Linked DNA regions of Homo sapiens: region 2 is linked to region 1. The links are contacts of gene promoters, found by promoter capture Hi-C in blood cells and fetal thymus (Javierre and others, 2016). All regions are on one chromosome and are shown on one strand. The core of a region is centred on a gene start or on the middle of the fragment in contact, and the rest is flanking DNA. Distances in the headings are between cores, read along the strand shown.

Region 1 (6,052 bases), core at 3,553-6,052:
TCTTCAGCACCAAATGCCCTGACGATGAATGAAGTTTTTAAATGATGATAAATAACTGATCTGCTGAAGACTAGTACCTTTAAGTTAGAATGAAAGTCACATTTGTATACACATTCTCCTGTTCTATCCTGATAACCTGTAGACTATTAAGAGGAGTAGCTGGATTAGGAGTGTATTATGAGGGATTTTGCAATGTGAAGAGAAGGAGGTTAACCAACATCAACCTTTGAGCTGGGCTAGAGATGACGTATTATTTCATAATGCTTAGAAACGTGCACAAACATACATTTGAATACAATTTCAGAAAGTTCATGCATCTTGAAACTCTAGGCTCTCCACAGTACCCTCTGTGGACCTAATCTAAGAACCCATATTTTAGAAGAAAAAAAAAATGTGAAAAAAGATATGATGGGCAGGGCGCGGTGGCTCACGCCTGTAATCCCAGCACTTTGGGAGGCCGAGGCGGGCGGATCATAAGGTCAAGAGATCGAGACCATCCTGGCCAACATGGTGAAACCCTGTCACTACTAAAAATACAAAAATTAGCTGGGTGTGGTGGCGCGTACCTGTAGTCCCAGCTACTCGGGAGGCTGAGGCAGGAGAATCACTTGAACCCAGAAGGCAGAGATTGCAGTGAGCTGAGATCACGCCACTGCACTCAGGCCTGGTGACAGAGCAAGACTCCATCTCAAAAAACAAAACAAAACAAAAAGAAATATATGGGTGCATGAGAGAGCAGCCTACTAGACATAGAAATTTCAAAGCTCATGGGTATCTATATTTTTACAGGGTTAATAAAAGAGCAAAATTGGTTAGTAGTAATCTGATTTTTAAAAAATTTTGGAGGTTAAAGTGGTCTGCTTTGATATAAAACACTTTGGCATCTAATAACTCTAAGATGTATGCTATTGGGAGCCACTGAAGGTTTTTAATAAGGCAAATAACATAATCAGATATATCTTTTAAGATCGCTTTTCTAGAAACATTGCTAGATTAGAAGAGAAATTAGAGGCAGAAAGAACAATGAAAAGATTATTGTACTACCCATCTCTTGCCTGAACTAGAAACACACACAAAAATTGATTTAAGTGATATTCAGAAGTAGAATGAATTATTCTTCCTAAAAATTTGAATTTGGGACAAGGGGCAAGAACAGTTAAAGATGCCCTTGATGTTTCCAGCTCCAGTAACTGGGTGATAACAAGATCTAAAAGGCACACACAAGGTGCTCAGTACCTGGAGAATAAATAAATAAATCAGACAAAAATTTTGCTTCTCACATTAGATGTTTAACGGAAGTTTAATTTAACTCCTCCCACCAAGCCAGGCGACAACAACAAAGTTACAAACACAATATCCTCACAAAGTCAACTAGGTCATTAGAAGAGATAATGAATTCAGGCCCGGCGTGGTGCCTCACGCCTGTAATCCCAGCACTTTCGGAGGCCGAGGCGGGCGGATCACAAGGTCAAGAGATTGAGACCATCCTGGCCAACATGGTGAAACCCCGTCTCTACTAAAAATACAAAAATTAGCCGGGCGTGGTGGCGTACGCCTGTACTCCCAACTACTCGGGAGGCTGAGGCAGGAGAATCACTTGAACCCAAGAGGCAGAGGTTGCAGTGAGCCGAGATTGTGCCACTGTATGTACTCCAGCCTGGTGACAGAGTGAGACTCCGTCTCAAAAAAAAAAGAATAGAAAAGATAATGAATTCAGTTTCAAGATGTCCAGTAAGCAGTTAAAAATATAACACTGCAGAACACGAGTGATGGAGATCCCATTAGTGGTTGCCAAGGGAATGGATGTGATTATCCAGAGAGAACATATAGAGCAGCAAGACAACTGAGGATACAGTCTTAGAGAATGCTGATATTTAAAGGGCAGATGAAAGAAGAGAAGCCAGCTGAGATTAAAACAGGCTGAAATGGATGCAGGACAAGGAAAAGCAAAAGTAGGAATGATGTGATTTGGCTAAAGCAAAGGATCTAGACTCTTAAGATAAATCAGACTAAGAGGTTAGGAATCAATTTTGTGGCCAAAGATCTTCAAACATCGGAGGTCTAGAAGGCTCATACTCCAATTCTCCCCATTTGCCCCCAACCCCAGGTGCTGGCGTTCATAGCAGGGTACAGTTTGAAAATCTGTACCCCACAGATTTGGGGGTACAAATAGTCATGGAGAGTTTCTGAATGGGAATTAACATGAATAGAGGTGGCATTAGGAAGACTAATCAGAAAACCACGTATAGGATTAATTGATAAAAAACTAGATTTTGCAAGCAACTAAGGAACCAATTTCAAAGATGGAAATGAGGACTTGAATTAAGATGTGGCAGTTAGCATGAAAAAAGCAGCTTCAACAAGACTTCACCAGCCTGAGGTGTTGGCCAGGCTTTTTGGTAGGAATTGAGACTCTTTTGGGAGTTTTTTGGGGGACACAGGGTCAGTGACACTGAGGCACTGGTCTAATGAAGGATTAACTTGGCAATGGTAATTAGGATTGAATGGCAGGTAAGATAGGAGATAGAGAAACAACAAAATTATTATAGCCGCACAGGTGTAAAGTGATGAGAATTTGAAATAAAGTTTAGCAGTAGGCATTCCTTAGTGACATTCTGCTGTTTTTTCCAGAATGGTACTTCCAGTTTCCGACTGACTCAATTTCTGGTCACCCAGTTGGAAGACATGCCTGGGCATGTCAGGACAACAATTTAGGTCAAGATTTCCCAGCAAGCACTTACGATGCCCCAATCTAGGCTGGCATCATACCAGGCTCTTACCTCCTATCCAGCCCCAATTCCACCACTTCCGTTTCTTTGCCTTTATGTCTCTTCTACTTCTGTAAAATAGCTGTATGTTGTCATAGTCATACACTACTTGTAAGTATTATTTTCACTTCTATTCCCACAAAGTCTGACGGAACCAATGGGATACCCGCCCAGGTGCAAGAACTTGGTTTTAAATTTAGCTCCTCTACTGAGTCCTGGGCATGCCATTTAATGTTTTCTGGCCTAAACTTTACCTTGACAATAGACTATGAATTAGATTAGCAATAGTTAACTCTGAGAAATTGACAATAACTATGGACCCCTTTCTCAGAAGATTCACATCTGCACATACAAAATCTACATATCACTTCAGGAGATTTATAAAGCCCCTTCTAGTCTATCTATGGACCCTTTAAGACAGTGGGGGGTTTTTTGTTTTTGTTTTAATATGTGTACCAGGATCACCTGAAGTACTTGTTAAAAATGCAGATCTCAAGAGATTTTGATTCACTATGTTTGGGGTGTTGGTCCAGCAATTTACATTTTTTACAAAATACTCCAAGTGACTCTGATGCAGGTCTCCTATTATGCACTCTGGCATCTAGAAAAACAAAGTGCTTCAGGCAACCCAGCATCTCAAGTTAAAAACTTTTGGACCACTAAAATTCATTCTGAATCTAAAATTCTGTCTGTCCTTGCGGGTCTGTATCATTGAGATAGGAGTAATAAATAAAATGTAATATCCAGGTGTTAAGCCTGAATCACTGCTGGTGCCATTAGCATAAACAGCAGTCTGAATTTTCCCCTTTGAGTAGGGAAGTTGGTACTAAACGCATTTGTTTCAAAACAGGAAGAAAAAGCTTGAGGGATATTTACAGTTAGTTACTAAATGCTTACAAAAATCAAGTTAAATAAAATAAAATCTCAAACCTGGAATCTACAACTTTCTAAAGAAATGTAGGGCCAAGCATGAATCTCTTGGGGTGGAAACGTTTGTTTCCCCCAAATCTTCACAGTATTAAATCAAAGATACCACAGCAACAGGTTCCAGTAGTACAAAAAGCATTTCTCTTGTCCACAAAGGGCTTAGAAGTATTTGCAAAATGACAGTGTTTGAAAATTATACAGCAACAGTTTAAACTACCATACAATCCTACAGTCTAACAAATTCTGGTTTATTTATTTTAGGTACTTTTATCAGCATAAACAACTTGGATGAACAACTTGGGCTTATTAAGCACCTACAATTTTCGTGGCACTTTGCATAAAGCATTTTACTTAATTCTCTCTGAAGTATCACTTCCATTGTATAAAGGAAGAAAGTGACACCCCGAAGATTCAGTTAGTTAAGGAGCCGGGCCTGAGCAAAACTGGCCTCCTACCCTGATTTTTTCACTGGGAGGAGGTCATGAGGATTTCGTGTCCCCTTCTACCTGTCATCTTCACCCCAGCCACCTGTGTCAATTTCCACACGCGTTCTCCAACTCCTTGTCACCATCCCAAATGGTATGCACCTCTCCAGCAGAGCCGCCACAGTCCTCTTTCCTTGCCTCGGTTTCCCTGGCCAGGGCTCCAAAACAGGGAAGGAGGGTGGGAGAGCGTGAGGCGGATAAACGCAGGGGTAAGTCTCACCCCGGCCTGAGGCCTCCAAGCGTCGTCCTTGGCTGGCCCCGGGGCAGAGCAGCGAGCGGGACGCAAACCCAAAGTCAGCTCCTTCCTCCGCCCTCCCCGGGGACGGCCTCCCCGGCGCTCGCAACGACGAAGCCAGGCTGCGGCGAGGGCGGGCGGACAGGCCTGTCCTGACCGCGGCGAATAACATTTCCTACAGCGGTCCTGCAACTTGCAATCTAACGGGCTGGCGTGACTGCGGTGAGGGGGAAGACGCAACAGCAACATTTACCTCATCCTGATCCAGCCCGGCCGCTTCCGGCCTTTCCGGGTCGCCCATCGCGCAGACTCCGCCGAAGCTACGGGCGCTGAGGGAACTGAGCTCCTCAGGCCACCTCCAACTACGACAGCACCCAGGTGGTCCGCTGGTCCGCTGGGTCCGCCCCGCCCCCAGCTCTAGGGACTCGGCCGGCCCCGCCCCGCCGCGCCGGTCCTGCTTTCTCGCCTGTCCATTGAGTGACTCTCCCTGCGCCGGCCCGGCCCCGCCTCCCCCGCCTCGGGGCTCCGCCTAACTTCGGCCAGCCCCGCCTCCCCGCCTGCGGCCTAAGGGTTTCTCCCCGCCTCGGCCGACCCGCCTCCCCTACTGCGGCCTAAGGGATCCTCCCCGCCTCGGCCTGCCCTGCCTCCCAGCCTGTGGCCTAAGGGATTATCCCTGTCTCGGCAAGCCCCGCCTGCCTTGGGGCACCGCCTACCTCTGCCAGCCACGCCTCCCCTGCCTCGGGGCTCCGCCTACCCCGGCCAGCCCCATTTCCCCGCCTGCGGCCTAAGGAAATCTCCCTGCTTCCGCTGGCCCCGCCTTACTCTGTTGCACCGCCCAGTCGCCCGGCTTTCCACTGAGGGACGCCCCCTGCTCTGGACTGCTTAGCCTACTCCAGCTGGCCCCACCTCACCTCATCGGCCCCGCCTCCTCCGCTCGCCCACTCCGGGCGCCCACTCCTGAGGAGCTATCCCAGAGTCCGCGCGGCCTCGCCTTCCCGGCCCGCTCACCACCCCGCCTCGTCCCACCTCGCCTCGCCCTCCCCGGGCTCTAGCCACTTGGTGCGGCAGGTGTCCTGCAGGCCGGCTCGAGATTCCCGAGCTCGCCCTCGTGGTGTTCCAGGAACACGGTACTTTGCGCTAGCCTGGCCTGTCCTGAGAGACTGCGGGAGGCGAAGAGAACGCGCTGTTGCTGTGGGAAGCGCCGGGGACGGGACAGCTACACCGCCAAACACTTCGCTAGGGAAAGGGCTGGCTGGTTTCGTGCGTAAACAACCGAAAAGGGGAAGTGTCTGGGGGAAAGTGTGTGTGTGTGTGTGTGAATGCGGGTGAGTGAGGGGGAGAGGGACACGTTACTAAAGTCAGGCAAATATTTTGAAAAAAATATATTTTGAAAAAAATAGTTTGGTCTAACAAAAATAAAATGGAAGAGAGATTTGTTTAAGTAGTTTGAAGCTGAAAGATTGACGGGATCTTGCCATGACCTGAACAGCATGCACCTGTTTTGTGGCTGGCTGAAGGATGGTAAATAGGATCAAGATCTCACTTTAAGCGTTGAAAATGCTGAAAGCCCTTTCTCAAACCTGCCATAGCGTAGGGGTAGACAGTCTTTCTTAAAGCAACTACTAGGGGTCAAATGC
Region 2 (6,052 bases), core at 2,045-4,544, 1.3 Mb before region 1:
CAGGCCGGGCGCGGTGGCTCACGCCTGTAATCCCAGCACTTTGGGAGGCCGAGGCAGGTGGATCACGAGGTCAGGAGACCAAGACCATCTTGGCTAACACGGTGAAACCCCATCTCTACTAAAAATACAATACAATTAGCTGGGTGTGGTGGCGGGCACCTGTAGTCCCAGCTACTCGGGAGGCTGAGGCAGGAGAATGGCGTGAGCCCGGAAGGCAGAGCTTGCAGTGAGCCGAGATCGTTCCATTGCACTCCAGCCTAGGCGACAGAGCAAGACTCCGTCTCAAAAAAAAAAAGAAAAAAGAAAAAAAGAAAAAAAAGACACTGTCCAATTTTTTCCTTCCTGAGACCACAGAACTGGGATTATTTATACTTTGAAACATACCAAAACCATGAAGACATGTAAATATACAGTATATCTTAATAAAATGAAATAGTAACAATAGATATAACCCTACAGAGTTCTTTGGAGAAGCCCTTATTCCAATGAGCTGTCTAGTGATTTTCATCTTAAAAACTGCTAACTCTACATAGCAGTTTTTAAAGCCCAAGGCACGTAATAATATATTCAGACTAAAACGGACCCAAAGCCGCTTGCTTTCTTATTTCTGTTTAATGGTAGTTCTGTGGGCTGGAGATAAAAATCAGTGACCCATAACCACAACTTAAAATTGCCCTGAGCAAATAAAAACGTAGAGCAGCAATAAAATAGAACTCAGTCAAATTAACAGAATCACTATTAAGATTACTCAACTGCAGTTGCCAACTGTTATAAATGTTAGACACACAATTTTACACTGCTTCCTCTCGGAGACCTCCTATATAAAGTCATTCTCTGCCTACAGCAGTGGATTTTAAATTTTAAAATGAAACCTTTGAAAATTTGATGGTTGGCATGGACCTTCTGCCCCACAAAAATACACAATTTTAAAGGCTTCTTCAATCTTCGAAATTCCATTCATGGACTGTAAGTTAAGAGACCCCTGCACTATTATAGGCAGGCTCACACTTTTAAATAGAACTGAAAAGCTAAGATAAACAGGACACAGAAGGTAGTCAAGGTGCTTTACCTGACTCTCATTCCCCACAACCCTGTGGGATGAGTATTATTCCTATTTAATTGAGCTTAGTTTTCTCAGAGGGACTGAGTGATTTCCTCAGGCCATGCATCTATTAAATGGTAAAACTAGTTTGACTCAGTATCTTGAGCTCCATTATTCACCTCGACATACTTCTTTGAGTTTGAAAGAGGCTTCCTAGACTGTATTTCCTTGGTATTCATTTCATCATGTGCAAGATAAAAACTACCCAATTTTTGGCTGCCATCTTTCAGGTTTAAAGAGGTACTAGTGTTGAGTCCCTCCCCAACTACCAAGAGAGCTTTTGTCTAAGCATCTGGCAGGAAAGGCAGATTGCATTAGTTCACATATTGCAGTTTGAAATTAACACGTGGAAGAGAAGAAACCCAAGTTCTTTTACATAATGCAAAGTCCACATTGTGAAGAGCATGCCAGTGACCACTTCCCGCCATAATGCTCTATTTACTCTTGTAATATGCAACATGGTCCAAGCTCTTTGCTTATTAAATGGTTAAACAATAGATAAATACATATAACCAGAATGGGTTACTAAAGAGCTCTTCAGAAAAACTCAGAACTTTGGAGATTAGCTGCTTTTTGTAGGAAGAAAGTTTATTTTCATAGCTATTATAAAATAGGTGCTCAATATAAAAAATCTGGTTATCACTAATGCCACAAGCCAATACTATTATTTCTGCAAAGGGACACCTGCTTATTTTTCTCAAATTAAAAAATATATATATCAAAGCCCAGAAAAGGCTGGAGTAATAAAAAATTATAATTGATTTTTTATCATGTAAGATCTTAAAAATATAATTTAAAATATTTTTACTAATCATTAATAATGATTCAATAACTTTTTCTAGTAGAAATATCAGTTCTGCTACATTTTATTCTTCCATCTCACAGAAAGGGCAGAAGGAATTTTATGCAATATGTTTCCAGAGTCGATGTGACCTATTTGAAAAAGATGGTAGGAAAAAGAAGCCTATTATCGGTAAATATCAAATTTTCCCAAGCAGAAAAAGAAAAAGCTAGGGAAATTTTGCAGTGCTGCTGACCTAATTCTATGCTCTTTCTCTAAAGAAGCCTTTCTGCTTGTTTAACAAATATTTGAGCATCTATTACACGTTGAGTATGCAAAGATCACTAAGTCTTACTCCTGAAAAGACCAAGGCTGGAAGCAAAAGCTTGTTTAGAATTCTCTTCAAAGCCATTTGTATAGTAAAGAAATTAAACTCTCATTTATCCAAACTTTCAAAGTGTAAATACCATTAAAACTTTTTGGGAAGCCAGTGCTATTCTGGAGGGTAACGATGTGGGTAGGGACCAGAGTGAACTTCCTTAATAATCATAACAAGAAGAAACTATTTATATGAAGAGATTATCTTGTTATCCTCATCTACTGGTTCTATGCAAACAAAGTTTCTTCATAAGGAAACTAAAGGGAAGCATAGTCAAAACTGCTACAAGTTGGGCTGGACGTGGTGGCTCACTCCTGTAATCCCAGCACTTTGGGAGGCCAAGGCGAGTGGATCACCTGAGGTCAAGAGTTAGACGTGACCTGGTCACCAGCCTGGCCGACAAGGTGAAACCCCATCTTTACTAAAAGTACAAAAATTAGCTGGGCGTGCTGGTGCACGCCCAGTAATCCCAGCTACTCGGGAGGTCAAGGCAGAAGAATTGCTTGAACACGGGAGGCGGAAGTTGCAGTGAGCTGAGATGGTGCCATTGCACTCCAGCCTGGGTGACAAGAGCAAAACTCAGTCTCAAAACAAACAAACAAACAAACATACACAAAAAACAAACCTGCTACAAGTCTTTTCCTTGGAAAAGACTCACAATGACAGGAACTTTTATACTTTGTATATGGAAAACATGCACATACCTACCTGGTATTGCAAATAAGCGTGTTAGTAAAAGGTAAATGTTACATTCCTTTTTATTCCTAAAATTGACTTTTGTCTTAAGGGAAATGTTAATGTGTAACACACCCTTTGAAGCCAAAATAAAAACTTTTCGATCAGGTGTAATAATTGGGAAAAACACTCCAGACTGAACAAAACTGAATTACACATACACAGATATTAGTTAGTAAGGTGAGCAAAAAAAAAAAACAAAAAAAACAAAAAAACCCAATACATTTTTTATTATAGAAAAAAAAAATCACATTTTCAAAATTTAAATATTTGGCCGGGCGCGGTGGCTCAAGCCTGTAATCCCAGCACTTTGGGAGGCTGAGGAGGGCGGATCACGAGGTCAGGAGATCGAGACCATCCTGGCTAACATGGTGAAACCCCGTCTCTACTAAAAATACAAAAAAATTAGCCGGGCGCAGTGGCAGGCGCCTGTAGTCTCAGCTATTCGGGAGGCTGAGGCAGGAGAATGGCGTGAACCCGGGAGGCGGAGCTTGCAGTGAGCCGAGATCGCGCCACTGCACTCCAGCCTGGGCAACAGAGCAAGACTCCGTCTCAAAAAAAAAAAAAAACAAAAAACAAAATTTAAATATTCTTATTACCTTAGCAAAATCACAAAACAGACATTTGTCACTTGGCCCCAATAAAAGCAAGATATTCCTTTTTTCAACTTAGATACAAATAGTAGCTATCATTCTAAAGGTTTCAATAAGCAAAGAACAAAAAAATGCCCCAAGACAGATGCCTCATTGAGTTTGTGGCTGTGAACCCAAATAAGCATGTTTAAAAAATCACTATTCTTTAAAAAGACAGTGTCAAGTAAGTATCATTTGAGAAAATTACAGTTTAGGAACTGATGCTATTCCATTAGTAAATACAAATGTAAAGAAATGATAGTATCATCACAACTTTAACAAAAACCCCAAACCCACAACCACATCAGACATTATCCTATTGCTCATTATAGCACTTCTTCCATAAACAAGGTTCATATAGTAAGTAACAAACCTGGATTTCCATACTGAGTTCCAGATTCAGTAATCTGTCCAGAAAAATCGAGATGCTGCCCCTCTTTGTATATCAGAGCCCTTCCATACTGGTTAAGTGTAACCATTTAGTAAAACCACTTTAAATATTATTCCAAAAACTGCCAGCTTGGTTGGATTCTCTACTGGTTTATCCTCAAATTTAAACTATTCTTGATCAAAAAGCCCTACTTTATATGACAGATTAAAATTAACCAAAATGTAGTTTAATTCTTTTAAGCGCAGTGCTTCAACACAGTAAGTACTGAATACTTAAAATACTCGATTCAAACTGGAAAATCAAGCTTGAGTTGTTCATAACCTTTCATCATGGTTGTGAGTGTTCAAAATTTACCTTCAAGAATTCAATGCAGGAAGAGGTTTCATAGTTGTGACGCCAGAGTTTTCTGCATGGTTGACTCATTACATTAACATTATAGCGGCTAATCCTGAGAAGAGTACTATTTCTACAATGAGTATCCTATTACATCTCTCTTACCTAAAGTATGTAAAATTCCTTTATCCACAGATGTACATTTAAGATAACCAGCTATAGAGCTACTACAAATATTCTAACCATAAGTAAAACAGTAACACAATTAGTTTATATTTTCAATTAATATAAAATACAATACTAAAGTCTGTTATTTTTAACAAAACTGAACTGTTTCATAATCATTGTTGCAATTATTTTACATACACGTATCTATAATTGTCTTAACATCTTTTTAGTCATGACACCATGAAGACTTTTAAATTTGGAACACACAATGTTTAGAAGGAAAAGAAAAACCAAACAAAAAGTTAAGAGTAATGTAACTGATACTCATAGGGACCCTACAGTATAATGAAGCCAGACTGAATTGATTCTCACCAGTACATCATTGCAGATATCTCTTAGCTCCGTCTCAATTTTCTCTCTGTATTCTCGAGCCATCTGCTGTTTTTTCTCAGCACCTTCCGTCTTTTGTTCAATACTTGAGACGACCCTCCAAGATGACCTACGGGCTCCTACAACATTTTTATAAGCAACTGAGAGAAGATTCCTCTCCTCATTGGATAATTCAGCTCCTTGCTCAGTTACAGACTTCATGCAGGCTGCCATGTCATCATATCGCTCAGCCTGCTCGGCCAGTTTGGCCTTCTGAACCAGCTCATTTTTATCCATGACTGGATGTTCTGCAGGGGGGAAAAAAGGAGTATTTAAAATTTTTCCCATCAAAATAAACAGACTCAAAATTATACCTGTGGTAAATGAGTTTTTTAAACCTGAAACCTAACTGCCTGTGAAAGACTGTTCACATGAGGAATTAAAATGCAGCCTCACAAAAGGATAGTCAAAAAAGGGAAAAAAATTTAGCATACTCAGCATCAGAGGTAAACTTACAGCCATTAACACATCAGTGTAGCAAAACTTAAAATTTGTTCAGAAGACCCAAATTTCACATGTCAAAATTACTTCCAAAAGCTGCCTCAAAAACTACCCCTAATCTTACCTGATCAAAATCTCAACTCATTTCCAATACCACTAAGTGATCCAAAATTAAGCAGCTTTTCTTCCTTTAGTAAAAGCATTGTTTACAGAGAACATCTGGATTTCTATCATATTTCCAGAATCATAATTCATATCAGTTTAATGTAACTCACGTCTTTTTACTTTCATAATACTCTTGTCAAGAGTGATTACATTTTAGCTTTAGTGTTACCCCTACCCCAAACCTACTAGATCTCTGCAACAACTGCCAGCCAATAATAGCATAACAATTTGGGGGGGAATGACCAACTGTTTGTTTTCAGATATTTTGAGTATAAATCCACCACAAAGGATCAATATCTGACCCTAATGTCTCAACTCTTTATCTTGTTATATGTCCACATGCTTTAAAAATATCCGCAAGTCATGACACTTCAACTCTTACTGTGAGTACTAGAATATATCACATTGGAAGTACTTAATTTATAAGTGTTTCCAATGTCATCGCTCCAGTTGAAATGCAGAAGTGCTGCATTTTGCTTCTAGCCATCATAATGTA

The links. The method cuts DNA at HindIII sites, captures the fragments that hold promoters and counts their contacts. A CHiCAGO score of 5 or more calls a contact.
Region 2: a fragment that was not itself captured here is called in contact with the fragment with the promoter of RRM2B in region 1 in 1 of 17 cell types (fetal thymus); the score reaches 8.4 in fetal thymus.

What each region holds. Positions count from the first base shown.
Region 1 is chr8:102,234,159-102,240,210 of GRCh38, forward strand. It overlaps RRM2B (ribonucleotide reductase regulatory TP53 inducible subunit M2B), which reads right to left and starts at 4,803. Exons shown (of 9, transcript NM_015713.5): 1 at 4,669-4,803. The coding sequence starts at 4,716. UBR5-DT (UBR5 divergent transcript) reads left to right here and starts at 5,293. Exons shown (of 3, transcript NR_125415.1): 1 at 5,293-5,542. RefSeq lists enhancers at 2,124-3,323, 4,627-4,726 and a silencer at 4,797-5,226. The HindIII fragment of the contact is 7,159 bases long and covers 3,627-6,052 here.
Region 2 is chr8:100,943,703-100,949,754 of GRCh38, forward strand. It overlaps YWHAZ (tyrosine 3-monooxygenase/tryptophan 5-monooxygenase activation protein zeta), which reads right to left. Exons shown (of 6, transcript NM_145690.3): 2 at 4,894-5,198. The coding sequence starts at 5,187. Among named protein-coding and RNA genes, the nearest start is that of YWHAZ, 5.3 kb to the right of the region's middle. The HindIII fragment of the contact is 2,056 bases long and covers 2,267-4,322 here.